3 separate regions of the Homo sapiens genome follow, and all the other regions are linked to region 1. The links are contacts of gene promoters, found by promoter capture Hi-C in human tissues and cell types (Jung and others, 2019). All regions are on one chromosome and are shown on one strand. The core of a region is centred on a gene start or on the middle of the fragment in contact, and the rest is flanking DNA. Distances in the headings are between cores, read along the strand shown. Region 1 holds the start of TASP1 (taspase 1). Region 2 overlaps NDUFAF5 (NADH:ubiquinone oxidoreductase complex assembly factor 5). Region 3 overlaps TASP1 (taspase 1).

Region 1 (4,192 bases), core at 770-3,269:
TTCTAGCCTGGGCAACAGAGTGAGACTCTGCCTCAATAATAATAATAAAAAAAAGGGTCCGAAGAATTTTGTTACTTTTACTTGAGCAGTATTCACCTACCAGAGGATGGCCTGTGTGGCATCTGGGTGTGATACCCAAGACAAAAGTATACAGAGCAGCACTGGGAGATGATTATTACAATGTAGTTAAATTCCAGGAAGAATGTTGCCTAAGAAATGGAAGGGAGCATGTCTATGTCTTTTTAAAACTTTAACATCTTTCTTTTATTCCTGCTGGTTCCAGTTAATATTGCTGTGTAAAAATCCACTTTAAAGGTGCAAAAGAACAACTATTTTATTATGCTGATGGATTCTGCGGGTGAGGAATTCAGAAAGGTCACAATGGGGATGGTTTATGTCTGCTTCCTAATGCCTGGGCCAAACTTTCTGGCACTATATAACAAGGGCCCCATTTTCTCCAGCTTCCAATAACATCTTCCTTAGCTCCCTTTAAGCCCTCATTGGCAGCTTCCTCAAGTCCTTTTAGACTCTTGTTAATACTTTGGATCCCTTCCTGCTCTTGCTGCTTCACCTAGTTCCAAAGCCAGTGCCACACGTTTTACTTTTATGATGTTATTATGTTATGTTTTGTTATAATATCCATCCTACTTCTAGGTAACAAAATCGGTTTCAGTTACTATTGCTATGTAATAAACTGTTATTCTTACTATGTAATAAACTTCTTCCCCTTGCCCCTCCCTAAGAAGTCAGTGGTAGAAGAGAAAGAAAAAAAGCCCCAAGTTACATAATAAAACCACATAGGTTATATTTATAATAATGGTATCAGTGGTTCTCGAACTTTTTGGTTTCAGCATACCTTTATACTCCCCAAAATAGTAGAGAACACTCCAAAGCTTTTGTTTCTGTGGGTTACATCTATTAATATTTACTATATTAAAAATTGAATACAAAGCTGAAATGTGGCTGGGTGCGGTGGCTCACGCCAGTAATCCCAGAACTTTGGGAGGCCAAGGCAGTAGGATCACCTGAGGTCAGGAGTTCGAGACCAGCATGGCAAACATGGTGAAAACCCGTCTCTACTAAAAATACAAAAAATTAGTCGGGTGTGTATCGAGCGCCTGTAATCCCAGCTACTCAGGAGTCTGAGGCAGGAGAATCGCTTGAGCCCGGGAGGCAGAGGTTGCAGTGAGCCGAGATCGTGCCATTGCACTCCAGCCTGGTTGACAGAGTGAAACTCCATCTCCAAAAAAAAAAGAAAAAAACCAACAAAAAACTGAAATGTTAAAAAGTTATTTAAAATAACAATAATAAACCATTATGTGTTAATATAATTAAGACATTTTAATGAAGAATAAATATTTTCCAAAAACAAAAAAATGTGGTAAGAAAAGTGTTATCTTTTGCATTAGTGTAAATTCCTCTATAGCTGGCTTAAAGAAGCCAGTTAGATTCTCATTTCTGCCTTTACATTCAGTTCGACGTGATGTTTTGGTGGAAGTATAAGGAAAATCCATCAGTCATGGGTCATCAAAACCCATGACTGGGTTTCGGTCTTACATCCTAGCCGATAAAAGACCGCCTACACTCCTTCCCCCTGGGCAAGGCTCGTGCCCCAACTCCTACAAGCAATGCAGGCTGAACCTTAGTTTTCCCTACCGTCTAACAGTGCTCTAAGGATTGAAAGAAAGTAACTCTTAAGCGACACCTAGATAAAATGATGGTCAGTTTAATTTCATTTCTCATCACAGTATTAGTCAATCAACCACTCAGATATAATCACATCCTGCGGGCTTATTCAGGGGCGGGGTGGGTAGAGATAAGCAATAGCGCATGCGCAGCTCAGAACGAAGCCCCAGGTGGAGTTAGCGCTGCACCTCTGAGGCCAGGTGAGCCGCTCCGAAGCGGAGGGCGGAGTCAGAGCCGCTTGTGGGAGGCTGCTTCCGACCACGTGGTACCCCGAATGACCAATGGGGAGACTTGATGTCAGCCCCGCTTCCTCACCCTGGCAACGGGCGGGTGACTACTTCCGGTGCAGTGAAGGCTCGGGGCTGAAGCGGGTGAGTGTCCCTCTTTCCCACGCTGTCCGCGCCGCTGCCGCCTCCGCGCTGCTGCCTCTGTGTGTGGGCCCCGTACGCTAGCTGGGACGTCCTCTCCGGGTCCGAGAGGGGGCGGCGCGCAGGACACCCCTTGCCCCGGGCGGGGCTAGAGGAGGGGGCCAGGATGTCCCTAGTTCCCTAGTCTTGGTCGCTCTAGGCGGCCCCGTCGTCCCCCTTCCCAGCCTCATCTCCGGCTTGGCGTCCTCGTGGCCACCGGGGAAGTACTGTCTGTATGTGGGGAGTTCTCGCAGTTCTTCACCCACTTTGCAGTCTCAGGCTGGAGATGTCTCAGAGTCCGAGGTTCGCAGACAGCCGAGAATGTGCGCCTTGTCCTGGGTGGCGGGTTGGGGGTAAGGCAGCCCCTTACTTAGTAATAGAGGCCTGATGAGAGTCCTGCGGGTCGTTAGCACTTACTACTCAGGGGGAGGAGGAGGAGGAAGAAGAGGAGGAGGAAAGGACCGAGAAGATGGAGCAGCTGGAGAGGAGGGGGGGAAAGCAGGAGCTAGAGATGTCCTGGAAATCGAGGGTATCGTGTTTCCGGAAGGAGAGAGTTCAACTTTCCTGGCTTCTGTAGGGGAGGGGAAGGAAAGGTGTGTTAGGGGCCATTAGATTGCTGAATTATTATTATTCTTTATTAGCGAAGGAATTTTTACTTATATTCTTAGGAGTTTAATAATTTATCTTTTTTGTTGTAAATAAAACTTTTCCCCACCACTTACAAAAAGCAGTGCTTACTAAGGAACATCTGGAAAATGCAGAAATAGTTATGAAGAGATCACCTATAGTTCTGCCAACCCAGCATTTTGATCTTTTTTCTAATATTTTATTCATATTAACCTATTTGTGATCATAATGTATGCGTGTAAAATACGGTTATAACTAAGAGGCATAGTTACATACATTGTGTTCATTGCACGGATAGATTGTCTTTTTTCCTCTTGAGAAAGTCTTATTAAGGTATTCATGCACCATAAAATTTATTCTTTAAAATTGTAAATTTCAGTGCTTTTTCTCATATCGCAAAGTTGTGCACCCATCACCACTATCTACTTTCAGAACATTTTCATCACCCCCAAAAGAAATCCTATACTCATGACAGTCACTCCCCATTAGATTCTCTGCTTTCTCTCCCAGGCCTTGTAACCACTAATCTACTTTCTGTATCTATGGATTTTCCTATACTGGCATTTCATATAAATGGAATCATAGAATATATGGCCTCACTTGTCTGGTGTCTTTCAGTTAGTATGTTTTCAAGGTTCATCAATGTCTGTGTATCAGTATTTCATTCTGTTTTATGGATGGGTAATGTTCCATTGTGTGAATATGCCACATTTTGCTTAACCATCATCGGTCGATGGACATTTAGGTTGTTTCTACTTTTTGGCTATTTTGAATAATTCTGCTATAAACATCTGTGTACAAGTTTTTGTATGGACATACGTTTTCAGTTCTCTTGAGTATATACCTAGAAGTGGAATTGGTGGGCATATGGTAACTCTATGTTTAACTTTTTGAGTGAGTGCCAAATGTTTTCCAAACTGGTTGCACCATTTTACATTCCCACCAGCAGGTTATAAGGGTTCTGATTTTTTCATATCCTTGGGAGCACTTATCTTTCTTTTTGGTTATAGCAGTCTTAGTGCTTATAAAGTGGTAGCTCATTGTAGTGTTGATTTGCATTTCCCTGATGGCTAATAATGTTGAGCATCTTTTAATGTGCTTATTGACCCTTTGTATATCTTTGGAGAAATGTCCATTTAATTCCTTTGCCCATTTTTAAATTGAATTGTCTTATATTAAAGTTGTATGAGTTCTTTCTATATTCTAAATGTAAGTCCCTTTCCAGATACATGATTTGCAATATTTTCTTGCGTTTTCTCCCATTTTATGGGTTGTCCTTTTACTTTCTTGAATGGTGTCCTTTATCTACTTAGAATTTTTTTTTCAAAGACTTGTCAAGTGCAATAGGGAGGATATTTAGAGTTAATTTTTCTGTATGATGTGAGGTAGGAGTTCAGTTTCATTCTATTGCATGTGGCTATCCAGTTCTAGCATCATTTGATGAAAGGACTGTCCTTTCCTCCATTGAATGG
Region 2 (4,192 bases), core at 431-2,930, 170 kb before region 1:
TTTTTCCAACAGAGAGGTCTAATTTCTAGTATGTTTCTCTTTTCTTTCTTGAAATGAATCATGAACACAGATTCTACAGCAGAACAAAAATAAATGCTGTATTTGAATAACATTTTTATTATTAGAGCCCGAGTGATATATCATCAGCCCACCATCATCTCTCAAGCCTTTGGATAAAGTGGCTCCTTGATTACATCAGGTAAGTCCTTGGGGTATGCTGGGGAAGGGGTGTGTGTGACTTATTACTGATCCTCTGTTATCTTGGCCATGCATGCTACAGGCTGCCAATCCCTCTATTAATGAATGAAAACTGATGACAATGGTAAGATTTCAGCTACGCATCTTTCCGTTTGCAGAGTGACAGAAGCTCCACACTCAGAGGAGGCTGCACGATAGGTCAAATGAACCTTGTTACAGATGGGCAACACAAGAAGGAACAGGGTCAGTTCAGACAGTGCCAGGGCAGAGCCAAGAAGCATGAGTTTGGCAGCTAATTCTGCCACTTGACAGGTAACTGTTCTCTTTGGCCCTAATTATTCTCACTCGTAACTTAAGCAAGCAAGAACAACAATGCTCACAAAAGACTATAAATCTGTAAGTAAAGACTAGATACTTATTTGTATAATCCTCTTTCTTTAAATCATCTTACAATTTTTCAGGATCCAGATGAAGGCTCCCCTAGGTAAGTGTAGTTCTGGATTCACAGAACATACCTTTAACCCCTCTTGCTTCCCCCATTCATCGAAATGATTTTTGATGTCAGTCTATATATATAAAAGAACCACCTCACAAATTCCCACAAAGGACGCAAGTTGAAGCTCTCTTTTAAGGAAACTGCTTCTCCAGCATCCCTTTCAAGTAATAGTTTATTTTTGCATATATTTTGCATATCTAACCTCTTTCAGAGTTTGATCTGTATCCTTCTTACTCCTTGAAGCCTCTTCCAAGCCATTACTTCCCTACCCTATTAAACACCTTCACCCTGCTGAGGCCCCACACCAGAAGGCTGTTAGCTCCTCCTAACTCCTGCTTGCTGTCTGACATCAGGCTAGTCACTCCCCTCATTCACTGAAAGGTTTGGCACTTGGCTCAGTTTTCCTCTACACTCCAGTACTGCCACCATCCTGGGTGACTTCATGTTAATAATCAGCAAGTTAAGATTTTAAAATCTCATCTCTAATCAACCACTCCATCACACCACCTCTGCCTTGATACCTGAGACACGTCCCAGACCATTATCACTTGTAACTGCTTTACTTCCAAAATCATCAAACATCTCATTTTCTGACCATACCCTCCTGTCCCTCCAGTGTGTTCAGGAACTTCAACCGTGACCATCCCTGACCACACTGGAACCACCTGTGCTCAGCTCCTCTTTTTCCTCCCAATTTATCAGCTCACTCTTTCTTGTTCCCACTTCCCTTTTCTTCCAGCTAAGATTCTTTAACCTATTATCTCAATTATACTCCTAGAATTATCTTTTACCTTTGTCTTTTTGTCACTTTTAACTAGCAAACCCCCAACCCAAACTAATTCAACTATCCGATTTTCGTGCCTGGTCCTGAGCTGCCACCTCCTGTTGATGGTCAGTTCACCTTCTCATTCCCTATAATGACTATTTCAAACGGTTCCATTCACTTCTCAAAACTCTGACCCTTTCATTCTTAGCATATATTACTTCCAGTTTGACAAAAAAAATAGACCCACAAGATGGGAACTTCTTGTTTTCAAACATAAACACCTACATCCTTTGGTGCTACCTCTTCTCCCTTCCTGCTATAACTTTGCCTCTCCCCTTACCAAGGTCAACCCCTCCACTGGCCTTTGTATTGCACCCTTCCCACCTTCTCAGACACCTGTCATCATCAATTATCTTTTCTCTCTCTTCTAGAGTCACCTCTTCTAGGAAAGCACTTAGATTCTTCTAGTCAGCAATTAAATAAATTCAAGTCTTAGAAAAAAAAAAACAACCTCATCTCAACTTCTATTCCTCTCCTCTCTTCTGACACCTGTAACCTTTCCATCCTTCACCTCTTCTTCACCACCAGACTTCTTGAAAGAACAGCACATATCTGCTATCTCCAGTTCCTCACTTTCCACTTACTCCTCAACCTACTCCTCTTCTACTCTCCTCACTCTAACAAAAGAGCTCTCACCAGGGTCACCAATAACCTTCTTGTTCCTAAATCTAGCGGACTTCCTTTTCAGTTCATAGTTTGCTTTTAACGCTGCTAAGTGCTCCCTTTGTTTTGAAACATTCTTTCTTTCCTTTGGTTCAGGCAATTCTACACTTTTCTGGTGTTTTTCTGGAACACCTTGCTGGCTACTCCTTCTCAGTCTCTTTGTAGGCTCAGACGTCGACTACCCACCTGCTAAAGCCTCAGTACCAAGCCACTTTGTCTGCTCACTCCATGTTCTTATCCTAGGCAAACGCTTTGAATGCCACCTATTCACAACTGACTCCCAACTTTTTAACCAAGCCAGTAGCTTCCTCTGAGCTACCTACCCACATACTCAACTGCCTACTTGACATAACCTCTTAGGTATTTCAAAAGCACTTCAAACCCAATGTATCCAAATGTAAACTCAAGGGCTGTACCTGCCCACACCTGGTATTCTTCTATTGTTTCTTCTATCAATGAAGGACACCATCTCTCTATGTGAGCTAGAAACTCAGCAATTAAGCTTCAAATGTCTTTCTCCTTCATCTGCCCACAGCCAATCCACCAGCAGGAACTGCAAAATTTATCTCCTAAACATCTCTGGGATGAATCTGCTTCTCTTCATCTCCATTGCCACCACCTTAGTACAAACTACCATCATCTCTCAGCAAGCTATACTGAAATTAATCTCGTGACTAGTTTATCTGCCAATCTACTCTTTTCAAAATCCAAGTCTGATACTGTTACCTCTCTAAGATGCCTCAAGGGGCATTTTAAGATAAGGGCAAACAATTTTAACAAGGCCTATAAAGTACTTCTGCATTTGATCTGTGACTCACGTTGACCCACCAAGGTCATCACTTAACTCTCTCCTTCTTACTCCCTGAACACCAGCCAAAATGCCCTTCTTTCAGTTCTTGCTATGTTCATTCTCACAGGAGGGCCTTTGCATATGCTGTTCTCCTTGCCTCAGATTCACTTGCCTACTCTGTCTACCCAGTTAATTCATCTCCATTTTTTTTTAGAGCACAGCTCAATTGCTACTTCCTCAGATAACACTTCTTTTTGAGTCTCCCAGACTGGGACATTTCCCCCTGACAAAACCCTACTTCTAAACCAACTCAACTACCTTCATTCCTGTATCTCAGCTGCCAAGTGTGGCTGAAGGAAGTCACCAATGTGTTCCATCATCCTCAAGTGCACCCTTCAAAAAAAAGTCCCGCCATCTTTTTACAAACAGCCGTAGCACTATATGCCTCTACTTCATAGCACTGACCATAATTCTAATTTAACACTTATCTCTGTGACAGCTGCCTGGTGCCTGCCTCCTCCATTTTATATCAGAAGCTCCATGAAGACAGTCTGCTTTCTCCTCAACAATGGATCCCTAGTGCTTTGCCCAGTGCCTGCCAAAGAGCTGGCTCTCAAAATGTTTCTCTCAAATGGAGTCTAAAAATTCTTTTTTTTTGGCCTACCTTTCCCAATGGAGTCTAAAAATTCTTTAAAGTGCCTTACCTTGTAAATCTTCCATCAATTCAAACATTCCAGGATAGTTAACTTGAATTTCATCAGTGTCCTATTTAAAAAGAAAAAGAAATATTCATTTGACATTCATGATACAAAATTCCAGATTTAAAAAAGAGGCCGCAGAGACTACCCAGACCAATCTCCCATGCTAAGCAAAAAATATTTACAATATTCTTCATAGATGTCATCTGGCTTATGTTTGATTTATGAAAGTCTCTAATTGCTGATTAAATATCCTGCATTGTGAGAGAAATCATCCTAAAACTCCATCATTGGTTCTAGTTCTCTCTTTGGGAACCACACAGAATAAGAGTATTCTGTACCCTACAAACCATTGCCCTCTCCTCCAAGTCTTTGAAAACCTTCAGGACACAAAAATCTGGAGATCCTTACATGTTCTGACTACATGTCCCTGGACAGTGTCAATATCAATCTTTCTTAAAATGGGGCACCTAGAATCAAAATATTTCATTCTATATCTAGTAATGCAGCCAATAGGCTTG
Region 3 (4,192 bases), core at 587-3,086, 140 kb after region 1:
GGCTTGAGATATTCTGATGGTAGTGTCAAGTCTTACTATTCAGCAAAGGCTGGGATCCGAGCACCAGCAAAACTCCAGATATCTCTTTATCTATTTATCTATTTATAGACCAGCTGTCAGCTTTAGGAAGGGGGAATTTCTCTCTTTCTCTTGCCTTCTGTCTTTTACAGCCTAGCTTTCAGCTTATTGGGTCACTGGGGATATTTTTACTTTCACCCACCTATGAGATCTTCCTTTGTCTTACCACTCTGGTCTCACACTTTGGTGGACAGTTGCAGTGCACTTAGGGAAGATCCAGTGTGCTTCTGAGGGATTTCTTTCAGCTCTTTTTTACTTTTCCCATTGCTTGGTGGCTGCTGCCTTGCAGTAAGTGATGGCTCTCTGCATCCAGGTTGGCTCTTCTCCTTCAGCTCTCTTGTTGTGTCCCCAGACTTCAAAATGCTGCTGCTTTTCACTTGCCAAAGAACTTATGCACCTCAGGGTGTGGATATCTTTCAGCTCTCCTGCTCTACCCTACATTTTTGGAGCTATTAGTGAAGACCTGTAGGAAAGAATTGATGAATGGATTCAGCCTTGTTTAGTGAATGGGGTTTCTTTTGATTCTGATGCATCATGGTAGCTCACATGTAGTCATTTGAAGTTTATTAAAGTTCAACTAATTTCTTGTCCTCATCTACAGCATTTATTCTTTTTCCACTGCTTCCTTAGGAATAGAAGAGACCATGGCTCTGTTTTCTCATAGGAAAGGCTTATCTTTTTTGGAATTAGGTTTATTGAGATATTTGTGCATTTTCGTTAAAAAACCCATGACTGTAGCTTATCTGGCTTGCTATTGTTATTACAGTGGGAGTGCTGGACTCTTGGAAGTTTCTTCATCCTAACTAGAAGTGGAAATTTCAGGGATCTGTTTTGGAGGCTTGTGAGACATATTAGAGGATTTAGAACCATTATTTTAGCTGGTAAAATTGTCCATCTTTTGGCACTGGAGCCCCTTTATGTTGGTTTCTGTGATCTTTGACTTTACTATCTTTGGTAATTTTCTTGTTTTTGGGTAGAACAAGATGCCTCAGACTCCTCTTGAATACATCTTTTATGAGACCCAGAGACCCAGAACCAGCCATTTCTCCAATGATCCTCCTCCTCCTTTTTTTTTTTTTAAGTAGGAAATGTGATTTTAACATAATAATCTAGTTTCCAAATTTTTACTGCAATTTTCATGTTAGCCTCTAGGCGATGATAGTATCACTGTAGTTCATGGGTCCAGCAGCAGTATTAAAAATCAAAATCAGACCGGGCGCAGTGGCTCACTCCTGTAATCCCAGCACTTTGGGAGGCCAAGGCGGGTGGATCACCTGAGGTCAGGAGTTTGAGACCAGCCTGGCCAACATGGCAAAACCCTGTCTCTACTAAAAAATACAAAAATTAACCAGGTGTGGTGGCAGGCACCTGTAATCCCAGCTCCTCAGGAGGCTGAGGCAGGAGAATGGCTTGAACCCGGGAAGCAGAGGTTGCAGTGAGCTGAGATCGCACTAGGGCACTCCAGCCTGGGTGACAGAGCAAGACTCTGTTTCAAGGAAGAAAAAAAAAATCAAAATCAAATTGAAACCTTAGCCTACAGGTTTAAAACCATACGCTTATAGATTTTTAAATAAAATTATAGCCATGTGGTTTCTTAATTTGGGATTTGTAGACCCTATGGAATCTATGTATTGGTTTTTATGGGGCATTCTGTGAATTTCCTGAGACTATATGAAACATTTTAGTCCAAGATATATCTTTTTCTCATGACCTGAGAGAGATTGGGAAGCACAGTCTTAGGTAATTTTGAATAAAACTGTAAGTTAACTTGCTGGCTAAAATAAATTAAATAAATAAATTTAACAAGTAATACAAGTTGATGTAGTTCCTTCTTTTCCTGTTATTATTTCTTAGTAATAGTGTCAAATGAAAACCTTGAAGAGTCCCAAATTGTATATTGTCTATTTGTCTTTTGTTACCTAACTCATTTGAGGTGGCCTTCCTGTATTTTGCCCCTTTCTTCTTTTATCTGCTACTTTCATCTGATAATTTTTCTAGTTGGTGGTAAGACAGCTTTTGGACAATTTCTGTATTGATATTCCTTAAATTCTACCCAGATGTAGAGAATAAAATATGAATACTATTTTCTCCTTCCTCCTTCAGAGCAGTGTGTCTTTCCCTGCCCTCAAAACTTCCCTTGATACTGTATTGAATAGAGAAAGGGATAAGCAATGACTGGTGAGCAGATTTAAGACTTTTTTCTATGGTACTTTATTTGGCCTCTAAATACTGAATGTTGTTTTTAAACTTTGCGTACAGCTTTAAAGCTGATGAAATGATTTATATTGCCTCTCCTTTGTACAGAGGAATTTATTGAGAAATAACATTGGCTCAAACTTCCTTTTCAGCTTTTAAAGAGATCAAAATGACCCCAATAAATTACTTCTAAATTTTAAGTCATTAAGAAAATTATTAATTAAATATTTAATATATGTGGCTGGCTCAGTAGTTATAGGTTAGATTTATGGTGTAGTATAACTGTCTTGCTTATGTTCTTTCTGTTTGTGGACTTTATACCACATATATAATCAATATGTATAGTGAAATATTTTACATGACATCTGCATATTTGTAGATGTTTATAACTGCATTTTGGCTTTGGTTTTTTTTTTCTGGCTCATGAAATGCACACCATGGCTTAGAGGCAAAATAAAATCTTTAATTTTATTTTGTTGGGATGTGCTTGGTGACTTACTATTTATAGGACTTTCTGGTTAAAATTGGAGACTATCTACAGTCCTAAGTGTTAGTATCAGAACCTGTTGTGCTCCTTATTTGCAGATAATTATTACTATGATCTTGTCCATATTCTCAGATTTTTGGGGCTTTGGATTTTCTTTGTTTATATCTCCTTTATTCATGTGATGATATTAGCCTGGTTTCTGCAGTGACTGTTATGGAATGAGCATGTTACTAGGAGTCACAATACTTGGATCTTAGAATCTTAGTTCTTCCAAATCACTTTTCTTGTTTGTCAGATGAGATGATAGTACTTTCCTTGCAAGATAATTCTAAAGCCCCAGATATACAGTAGTTGATTATTTAATCAGTGAGTCAGTGAGTCAGTGACCCTTTCTCCCTAAAAAAATTAAGTTTTCTATAATTGAATTTAATCTAAGTATATTTTTTCATTAATTAACAGCTTTTAAAAAGGGTTTTCTCAAGTCATCTGCCTATTGCAAGCCTCTTAACTATATTTTAACCAGCAAGTTATTAAAGTTCTAAAACTACATTCAGTGGTAAATATTTTGTCTTGTGAGGAATATAAAACTATTAAAGCTAAGCCATTTAGTTTTTCAAATGAGGAAGCTGAAGCATAGATGTCATAAGTGACTCATTTCAGGTTCTACAGCCAGAGCTGGTTCTCCTCATATGTGATCCTTCTCTCTGATGGAACAGGAATCCAGATAGAAGATTGACAAGAGCATCAACTGAACATTACAAACAGTGTTGCTTCTTTTATGGCTACTTTCCTAATGAAGTTCTCAGGTGTGGATAAATCTAATGCTTATACATATACTCTGTTTCCCAGATAAATACAATATAGTGATACAATCTTAGCAGCACCACCATAGATAAGAATACCACTTTTACTGGTGATGGTTGCCTCTGATTTTTTTTCCTCCTTCCCTGGGTTCATTTGTCCCTGATGCTCTAATTAGAGTGTTATAATTTAGGTAACTAAATTTAAATAATTTAGAACAGAAAGCAAGGTTCTGCTTTATCTCCTGTATTAACACTCAAAATGAATATTGGGTAAATTTCTACATTGAGATGTGTATTAGGGTTCTCCAGAGGGACAGAACTTATAGGATATTTATGTATATGAAAGGGAGTTTATTAGGGAGAACTGGCTTACCTGATTACAAGGTGAAGTCCCAGGATAGACCATCTGCAAGCTGGGGAAGAAAGAATCCAGTAGTGGCTCAGTCTGAGTCCGAAAGCCTCAAAACCAGGGAAGCTGACAGTGCACCCTTCAGTCTGTGGCCAAAGGCCCAAGAGCCCCCAGCAAACCAATGGTGTAAGTGCAGGAATCCAAAGGCTGAAGAACCTGAAGTATGATGTCCAAGGGCAGGAGGAGCAGGAGGAAGCATCCAGTATAGGAAAGGGAAAA

Evidence for each region. The method cuts DNA at HindIII sites, captures the fragments that hold promoters and counts their contacts. A contact is called where the count stands out against the background at its distance.
Region 2: a contact is called between a fragment that was not itself captured here and the fragment with the promoter of TASP1 in region 1, in 2 of the 25 tissues and cell types used here (spleen and stomach).
Region 3: a fragment that was not itself captured here is called in contact with the fragment with the promoter of TASP1 in region 1 in 2 of the 25 tissues and cell types used here (aorta and spleen).

Annotation. Positions count from the first base shown.
Region 1 is chr20:13,636,759-13,640,950 of GRCh38, reverse strand. It overlaps TASP1 (taspase 1), which reads left to right and starts at 2,019. Exons shown (of 14, transcript NM_017714.3): 1 at 2,019-2,057. RefSeq lists a silencer at 2,119-2,268 and enhancers at 2,459-2,548, 2,162-2,662. The HindIII fragment of the contact is 12,335 bases long and covers 1-4,192 here.
Region 2 is chr20:13,808,388-13,812,579 of GRCh38, reverse strand. It overlaps NDUFAF5 (NADH:ubiquinone oxidoreductase complex assembly factor 5), which reads right to left. Exons shown (of 11, transcript NM_024120.5): 8 at 3,678-3,738. Among named protein-coding and RNA genes, the nearest start is that of NDUFAF5, 25 kb to the right of the region's middle. The HindIII fragment of the contact is 5,919 bases long and covers 1-4,192 here.
Region 3 is chr20:13,493,451-13,497,642 of GRCh38, reverse strand. The region is part of intron 10 of TASP1 (taspase 1); the gene reads left to right. Among named protein-coding and RNA genes, the nearest start is that of TASP1, 140 kb to the left of the region's middle. The HindIII fragment of the contact is 6,679 bases long and covers 1-4,192 here.